Regions from separate parts of the Homo sapiens genome. Here region 2 is linked to region 1. Evidence: promoter capture Hi-C in 16 types of primary human blood cells and fetal thymus (Javierre and others, 2016). All regions are on one chromosome and are shown on one strand. The core of a region is centred on a gene start or on the middle of the fragment in contact, and the rest is flanking DNA. Distances in the headings are between cores, read along the strand shown.

Region 1 (4,409 bases), core at 1,348-3,847:
TAGCTGGGATTACAGGCACATGCCACCACACCTGGCTACTTTTTTGTATTTTTTAGTAGAGACAGAATTTCACCATGTTGGCCAGGCTGATTTTGAACTCCTGGCCTCAAGTGATCTGCCCGCCTCGACCTCCCAAAGTGCTGGGATTACAGGTGTGAGCCACGGTGCCCGGCCAAGGTAATTTCCTCTTCCTCTGTCAGCGCCCCTACCGTGCTCCCACGCTCAGTTGTCATCTCCCTCTCCCTAGACATGAAAAATCAGGTGACATCTAATCTCTCCCAAAGCAACACAAGGGAGGGGGCACTCCCAAAGCCTCCCACAGAAACACAATTTAAGTAAAGGTGAAACCAGTCCAGTCCTTCCTATGCAAATGTAGCCTGAATGGCACCGCCATTGCCCATCCCCCAATCCCTGTGTCCAAGCCTTATTTGCGTAACCTCCCACGGGACAGAACTTCCTCCTCTCCCTTCTCTTCTAGGCCCTCATCATCTCTCATCTACGCTAGAGTCTCCCCACTGATTTCCTCCCTTCCATCAGGCCCCCATAATCCATCCCCACAATACAAGCTCCTCAGTGCACACATCTGAGCAAAAGTCTTCAGTGGCTCCTTAGTAACCGCAAATGCCCACCCCTCTTTCACTTCTCTATTGAATGTGTGAATTTTTACCAAACGCTCTTATTAAAAAAAATAAAAACAAAAACAAAAAAAAAACAGGCAGGGCAGGGTGGCTCACACCTGTAATCCCAGTGCTTTGGGAGGCTGAGGTGGTAGGATCATTTGAGCCCAGGAGATCATGACCAGCCTGGGCAATCCAGCAACATACCCCTCACTACAAAGAAATATGTATATATTTTTTTGAGACGGGGTCTCGCTCTGTCTCCCAGGCTGGAGTGCAGTGGCGCGATCTCTGCTCACTGCAACCTCTGCCTCCCTGGCTCAAGTAATCCTCCCGCCTTGTGAGTAGCTGGGACTACAGGCTTGCACCACCACGCCCAGCTAATTTTAAAATTTTTTGTACAGATGGAGTCTTGCTATGTTGCCCAGGCTGGTTTCAAAGTTCAGAGCTCAAACGATCCGCCTGCCTCAGCCTCCCAAAGCGCTGAGATTACAGGTGTAAGCCACCGCACCTGGCCAAATTTACAACACACACACACACACACACACACACACGAATCACCAAATTGTTAGGCCTAAAGGTGCCATTCATTACTCCGAGTTTCAAATAACTTTTAAAAAATACATCTATGCCGGGTGCTGTAGCTCATGTCTGTAATCACAGTACTTTGGGAGGCCAAGGTGGGAGGCTTGCTTGAGGCCACGAGTTCGAGACCAGTCTGGGCAACATAGAAAGACTCCATCTCTGCAAAAAAGATAGCCAGGCTTGGTGGCGTGCATCTGTAGTCCCAGCTACTCGAGAGGCCGAGGCAGGAAAATCGCTAGGACCCAGGAGCTCAAGGTCCCAGTGTGTTACGATCTGCACTCCAGCCTGGGCGACAGAGGGAGACTGACTCCAAATGAAACCAAAAAAAAAAAAAAAAACAAACAAAAACAAAAACAAAAACACACCTAAATTGGAGTTTAACGGAAAACTTTTAACTTTCTCCAGCACTCCTGCTAAGCATCACACTTCTCTCTGCTTGCTGGTACCCTGGCTGACGTCTGAGCAGGATGGGACGCGCGGCTCAGAGCCTAAGATAAACCGAAAGTGTCTACAGGGCTTTCTACCAACAAATAAGCTCTGACGGGTTCCTTTGATGAGGTTTGGGAGGCAGGTCCCGGGAGGTGCCCGCGGACTCAGCCCCGAACTCCGGGACCTGGGCTCTGCGATCCTTGCAGAGGGCATGGGCAGGGGCAGAATGGAGAAGTGCAGGACGGGGAAGCCTGGGAGCTGGGTGGGGGCGGCCACCCATTGAGCCGGATCCGGCCAGGCGCCCACGCTGCGCCCCGCCCGCGGGGCTGCGCTTTCCCGGGCTGCGGCCGCAGGGCTGGTCAGTCCGGCGCTCCCGGGTCCCAGGCCCGGAAGGAGCTAACGGGCTATTCGCAGGCGGGCTGGGATTCCCCCGGGGGAGGCCCCACTGCCCGGCCCGCGTCATCCCCGCCCATCTCCACGGGCCGTCGCGGGATAGCCCCCTGCAGGAGCGGGCAGGGTAGTGGGCGGCGCTTGGCGGAGGGCAGCACGCTCGGGGCGCGCGGGGACTGCGGCCGAGGGGAGGAGAGGGCGGTGCGCGGGCGGGGGCGGGGCGAGCGAGGGCATATCAGGGCAGCCCGCCCAGGCCACGCCCCATCCAGGCCTCGCCCCGTCCGCACCCCGCCCCGGCCCTGCCTAGAACGGCGGGACCACGGTGACTGACAGGACTCCAGACCAGTCACCACGCGCCTCGAGGCCCCGAGAGGCTAGTCGGGGCCGAGCCAGCGGAGGGGCTCCTGAAGGGGCGGGGGCGGGCGGGGAAGCCGTTCGGCGAGGGGCGGGGTCTCTGGAAGACTGGCAGAACTCACAGCCAATGGCAGGCGGGAGCCGTCCCGTTAGCGCCGGATCCCCGCGGGTAGGGCGGGGCGGGCGGCGCCGTGGGGATCCCGGGGCAGCCGAGGGCCCCTGACTCGGCTCCTCGCGGCGACATGGATCGGATGGCCAGCTCCATGAAGCAGGTGCCCAACCCACTGCCCAAGGTGCTGAGCCGGCGCGGGGTCGGCGCTGGGCTGGAGGCGGCGGAGCGCGAGAGCTTCGAGCGGACTCAGGTGAGGACGGGGGACCCCGGGGCATCCCTGGGGCACCCTGAGGGACGCGGTGTCCGGGAGGGGCTTTGAAGGGAGTAGGAGTCTTGCAGGCCCCAGTTGAAGACGGGGCGAGGGTGTAGTGAGCGGGGGCATTGACGTGCAGATCTGGGCGATCCCAGGAAGGTCGGGGACCCCAGGGTACCCCAGCTGGCCTGGGGAGAAGGGCAGAGGCGGGCTCGGAGGAGATGGCAGGATGCGTGGCCAAGAGGAGCCTGATCGGCTGGGTACCGGGCAGGAGTCCCAAGATGAGGTGAGAGGGGAAGGAACTGAAAAGGGGCGGAATGGAAGGGTTGCCCCTAAACAAGGGAAGCGCACGGGAGCCACTTGGAGGCTCAAGTGTGGGGGCGGAGAGTGGGGGCGCCGGGCTGGGAATGTGAAGGGTGAGGGGACCTCTCTTCCCCTCCGATCACTTCTTGGTTGCATTGACATCCCTTCCCACCCCCCACCCCTTAGCATCCCCCTTTCTCGATGCCTCTTGCTTGGCTCTGGCCAGCCCCAGCTGTCAGCTCTGAGGCCGGGCGGAAGGGGTCGGAGCAGGGAAAAGGAATGTAGGAAATGCAAAGTGTGGCCACTTTGTGGGAAAATTACTTTGGGGGCTAAAGTGGAGACCATGGTGCCCCTGAGCCCTGACTTGGGGTCTTGGTTTTATCCCCCAAGATGTGCCTGACAGCTAATAGGCAGACTGCCCTATTTGTCCTGCCTGGCCAGGGCTTGGGGCCAAAATTCCTCAGTGTCATCAACAAAAAGCCACAATCCATTTTTTTCTCCGAGTTTTTAATGCCTGGTGTATTGATTGGGCTGAATTAAGCTGACATGTTGATGGTGTTCATCAATTCATTTGTATGTAAAATCCATTTCAAAGAGTACAACGCTTCTTTTAATCCCAGTGCCAATGCTGGAGGGGCAGATTTCTTCTACACTCTTGTGCTCAGAGTGGAACCTTTGAAGATCCATTTGGGTCCCCCTCTCCAGAGGCTGGTCCCCTGATGTGTTATGCGAGGAATACTTCCCCCAAACACAGTTGGAGGGAAAGGGCTTTGGGATTTTAGTTAGAAAAGACAGTGAGAATCTGACTGAAGGTTCTGTATATGGAATCTTTCAAAGAATAGAGCTTTTGGCCGGGCGCGGTACCTCACACCTGTAATCCCAGCACTTTGGGAGGCCGAGGCGGGTGGATCACCTGACGTCAGGAGTTTGAGACCAGCCTGGCCAACATGGTGAAACCCTGTCTCTACTAAAAATACAAAAAATTAGCTGGGCGTGGTTGCAGACGCTTGTAATCCCAGCTACTTGGGAGGCTGAGGCCAGCAGAATTGCTTGAATCTGGGAGGTGAAGGTTGCAGTGAGCCGAGATGGCGCCACTGCACTCCAGCCTGGGCAACAAGAGCGAAACTCCGTCTCAAAATAATAATAATAAAAAAGAATAAAGCTTTTCACCCCCAGAGGACTTCATCCCCTCTTCTTATTCTGAAAACCTTTGGCCCCCCACCTGGGCAACATAGTGCGACCCTGTCTCTACAAAAAATAAAAAAATTAGGCTGGGTGCATTAGCTCACACCTGTAATCCCCGTACTTTGGGAGGCCAAGGTGGGAGGATCACTTGATCCCAGGAGTTCGATACCTGCCTAGACAA
Region 2 (4,409 bases), core at 618-3,117, 1.7 Mb after region 1:
CACATATACCTACACCTGCACCAATCCTCGCACACTGCACATGTGCAGCGCCCAGGCAGGGCAGTCGCTGTGCCAAATAGGAGAAGAAAGGGCGCTGGCCTGAGTCTTGCTGAGATACTGACTAGGTTGCCAAGCTTCTCTGGCCCTGTTTCCCTATGTATCAGCTTAGGAGGAGGATCAGGTCCATCCTCCCGCTATAGCATTGGATCTGGCAAGGTAAATGAGGAGAAAGGAAGCAGTGGCTTTAGGGATAAGGCAGTGGGTGACATTCCTATCACAGCCTCCTTTCTTCCCTCTCCTGCCCAGGAAGAAGTACTAAGAGGGCCCTTCAAAGGCAGGGACTGGACAGGGCTGGATTAGTGCATCCTGGGCTGAAGCCAGCTGGGAGGTCAAGGGCAGGAAGCCTGGAGGTGCCGGCCCTAACAGATCCTTGGCAATGAATGCCCTGGCTTGGCAAGGGGAGGGGGCTGCAGACCTGGGTACTCCCAGACACCTGTCCCAGGGAGGCCTGGCACCTCCTCTAGCCAGCCACAGGCATGCTTAGTCATCCTTGGGGCCTGGCACCCTTGGAGCTGGTGGGCCCTGGAAAATGCCCCAGACCTGCCCCTCTCCACTGTACAGAAGGGGAGACTGAGCCCCAGAGATGGCATGGCTTGCCCAGTCACATAGCTAGGTCCCAAGGCCACAACAGCCTGACCCTCTGTGAAGACGCAGGTACCTTAGGTAGGCAGGGGCTACAGGAAGGTGGGCCCCTACCCCAATCAGGTTTTCATGGGCCTGGGAAGAGTTGGTGGCAGGGGGAGGTGTGGAGTCAGGCCCTGCCTTGGGGCCAGGTGGATCTAAGTGACAGGTCAGCGAAGGAGATCCAAGGAGGGGCCCCCAGACCCTGTCCTAGGCTGGGGGAGTCCTTGAACCCTAACTGCAGTGCAGTACTGCGCCTTGGGCCCCAGTGAGGGAGAAGGGGCTAAAGAGGAGGTTAGGATGAGTCATGCTCCCAGCCAAGACTGAGGGCAGGCACCGGGTTTGGGGCACGGACAGGGAGAGTGGATGAGGCTCCCGCAGTACACGGCCTCCGGCTTCCTGGACGCCTATCTCCGCTCTACCCATCTGGCCCCCAATCACCGACACCGGGGGGGCAACTACCCAGTTTCCAAATGTACAGAAGGGGAAACTGAGGACCAGGAAGTCAGCGCCTGGCTCAAGGTCACAGAGCCGGGCAGGCGCCCGGCGGCCACTGGGACCCGGGGCTGCGGCTTCCCCAGCCGCTCTTTCTTCCGAGACTGGATAAAGGGTGGCCCCAGGGCGAGGCCCGGGTGGTGGACAGAGCACGCGGATGGAGGCCGACGCGGGGTGGGCAGTGTCTGGGAGTCCTTCGCGGGGGGACGTGGGAGGAGGAAAAAGGGTCCAGGGGCCCCCAGACCCGCAGGAGGGCAGCTCGCCGGGGGCCGGGGAGGGGGATCCCGGGCGGGAGGGGGACAGGGAGGGGCCTGCGGGCTTCGTAAGGACGAGCTCATCCCGGAGGAGGCAGGGGCGCGGCCTCCTGGCAGACCCGGCCCCCTCCCGTGCCCCACGCTGCCCCGGGCACCCCCTCCAGGCCCTCGCCCCACACCCCGCGGCCCGCGCACCTTCCTCTCCCATACGTTCTTCCCTCCAGGTGCAACAAAGTAGCGTCAACCTCATGCACTCGACGGGGGGCGGGGCCCGGCGGGGCTGGGGCTGGGGGCGGCCGGGCCCGCGAGCTCGCCCACCGCCGCCGGCCCGGGGAGGCGGGGGCGGAGGGCGCGGGCCGGGCCGGGCCGGGCCGGGGGCGCCTCTCGGACACCGGCGGGGAAACCGGCTCGGCGCCGCGGCGGCTTGGGGAGCGAGCGGAGGGGCGGACCGAGGCGGGGCCTGTGAGCTGCGGCACGGGGGCGGGGCGCGGGCGGCCGGCGGCGGGAACGGCCCTGCGCGGCCCCGCCCCCACCAGAAAACCCCGCCCCCACGCCCAAGGCCACGCCTCTAGAGGCCACGCCCCGCTGCGGCCCGGCCTGGGGGCGCCGCGAGCTGGCGCGGCGCGCCCCGCCCCTCCCCGCCCCTTCCGCCCTTCATTCATTCTTCTTTCTCCCAGCGACAGGCCTCGGCTGGGAGCTGCGAGGCCCAGCTGTCTCGGAGGGCCGCTAGCTCTGCTGGGGCAGGCCAGGAGGATGTAGGAGCCTAGAGAAGGGGCCTCCGCTTCCCTGCGCGAGGCCCCCACAGACCCAAACCAGCTGCAGCCGGGAACTCGGATCAGAGCTGGAGAGGCCCTGTGGACCCCCAGGACACTGGTGGTCGCCTTGGGGAGGGGAGGGAGGCGGGCCGGGTTTTGTCCCTCTCTCTGAGGCCTGCATTGAGGCCAGGCTGGGCCCGGGGAAGGTGACGGTCCGCGTCTCAGGCCTCGCGAATGAGCAGCACCAGAGAAAGGAGCGAGCCCCTGCCAGGCGGTGACAGGTGTACTCTTCTCAGTGCCGATTACCTGGAGCTGGGGCTGCCCTGCCCAGGGTCCTGGAGGGAGCACGGGTTTGGGCTGAGTCAAGCGTCCAAAGGAATTGGGTGGTCCAGTCCAGCACTGATGGTGGAACGCCCTGCCTAGATGTGGACAATTCTAGAATGCTGGACATGGGCAGGAAGCAACCCTGTCCCCCCTAGGTCTACCTTCCACGTCATCCCTCTGCCCAGGAAGCAGTGACCGGAGTGGAGCCACGTGCCCACGTGAACCCAGTGAACAAGAGGCAGCGCTAGCCCAGCTCCAACTCTAGTCATCATGTTTGTGGGGAGAGGTCTAGGCACGTCTGCAAAGTGGGGGGCACTCACCCCTGGGTGCAAAACAATTACGTGGGGTGGGAAGAAAATACTAGATTTTTTTTTTCTTTTTTTAGATTCGGTCTCGCTCTGTTGCCTAGGCTGGAGTGCAGTGGCGGGATCTCGGCTCACCGCAGTCTCCACCTCCCAGGTTCAAGCAATTCTCCCACCTTAGCCTCCCGAGTAGCTGATATTACAGGCGTGCACCACCATGACCGACTAATTTTTGTATTTTTAGTAGAGATGAGGTTTCACCATGTTGACCAGGCTGGTCCTGAACTCCTGACCTCAGGTGATCCACCCTCCTCGGCTTCCCAAAGTGCTGGGATTACAGGTGTGAGCCACCACGCCTGGCCAGAATTTTTAATTTCTCATGAGAAAGAAGGCTGGGCACAGTGGCTCACACCTATAATCCCAGCACTTTGGGAGGCCAAGGTGGGAGCATCACGTGGGGCCAGGAATTGGAGATCAGCTTAAGCAATGAAGTGAAACCCTGTCTCTTCTAACTTTTTTTTTTTTTGAAATGGAGTTTCACTCTTGTTGCCCAGGCTGGAGTGCAATGGTGCGATCTCAGCTCACAGCAACCTCCACCTCCCGGGTTCAAGCCATTCTCCTGCCTCAGCCTCTGGAATAGCTGGGATTATAGGCATGCACCACCATACCTGGCTAATTTTGTATTTTTAATAGAGACGGGGTTTCTCCATGTTGGTCAGGCTGGTCTCGAATTCTGGACCTCAGGTGATCCACCCACCTTGGCCTCCCAAAGTGCTGGGATTACAGGCGTGAGCCACCGCGCCCAGACTTTTTTTTTTTTTTTTAATTAGCCAGGCATGGTGGCTCATGCCTGTAGTTAGTTACTTGGGAGGCTGAGGTGGGAGGATACTTGACCTCAGGAGGTTGAGGCTGCAGTGAGCTATGATTGCACCATTGCACTCTAGCCTGGGTGACAGAGACCCTGTCAAAAAAGATAGGGAGGGAAAAAAAGGGGAAGGAAAGAGAGGGGAATGAGAGCCTTGTAACTTGGCTGTAGGGCATATACCAGGCAGGACCCTGGCTGGAAACAGAAAGTGCCACTTAGTGGGGCTAACTGGGGAGAGTTTGATAAAGGGGATGTTTGCAATGCACTGGGGAGGGGGGATTAAAGGAGATCAGTAAGGACTGGCACAGTTGGAGGGGTGGCAGCAGTTACCAGCCCAGGGTAAGGGGGCATAGAGGGGGTCCCTGGAGGAGAGGCCTGCCTGAGAGGAGCTGTGCAAGAGGGGTCCCCAGTTCTGGGGGACTCATGGGGAAGAGGGCCCAGAAGGGCTATTCTGATCTGACTCCCCTGCTCTTCTTATTCTTCCATTGCCTCCCGTTAACCAATCCCGTCTGGATGCAGCGGGCAGGGCCATGTTGATGCTGTGCCCACAGTGCAGGGCAGAGAAGTGCATAGTGGCCTGGAGGGGCTGTGAGCCTGAGCCAGCTTGGTTGAGTGATGTTATCCAGTTTTGACTAAATTAACCCTCACAGAATGGACTCATAGTTGAAAACAATTCCTGCAAAGAAAGCACAGATTGGGCCTGGCGTGGTGGCTCACACCTGTAATCCCAGCA

Evidence for each region. Contacts are between HindIII fragments. The CHiCAGO score rates a contact against its expected background, and 5 or more counts as called.
Region 2: the fragment with the promoter of LIMK1 here is called in contact with the fragment with the promoter of HIP1 in region 1 in 1 of 17 cell types (neutrophils); the score reaches 9.1 in neutrophils.

The regions. Positions count from the first base shown.
Region 1 is chr7:75,737,129-75,741,537 of GRCh38, reverse strand. It overlaps HIP1 (huntingtin interacting protein 1), which reads left to right and starts at 2,597. Exons shown (of 31, transcript NM_005338.7): 1 at 2,597-2,737. The coding sequence starts at 2,618. RefSeq lists a silencer at 1,820-2,809. The HindIII fragment of the contact is 9,380 bases long and covers 1-4,207 here.
Region 2 is chr7:74,081,262-74,085,670 of GRCh38, reverse strand. It overlaps LIMK1 (LIM domain kinase 1), which reads right to left and starts at 1,867. Exons shown (of 16, transcript NM_002314.4): 1 at 1,626-1,867. The coding sequence starts at 1,680. RefSeq lists enhancers at 1-542, 1,054-1,323, 1,810-2,488, 2,384-2,493, 2,489-3,167 and silencers at 1,514-1,563, 1,674-1,723, 1,844-2,113. The HindIII fragment of the contact is 9,779 bases long and covers 137-4,409 here.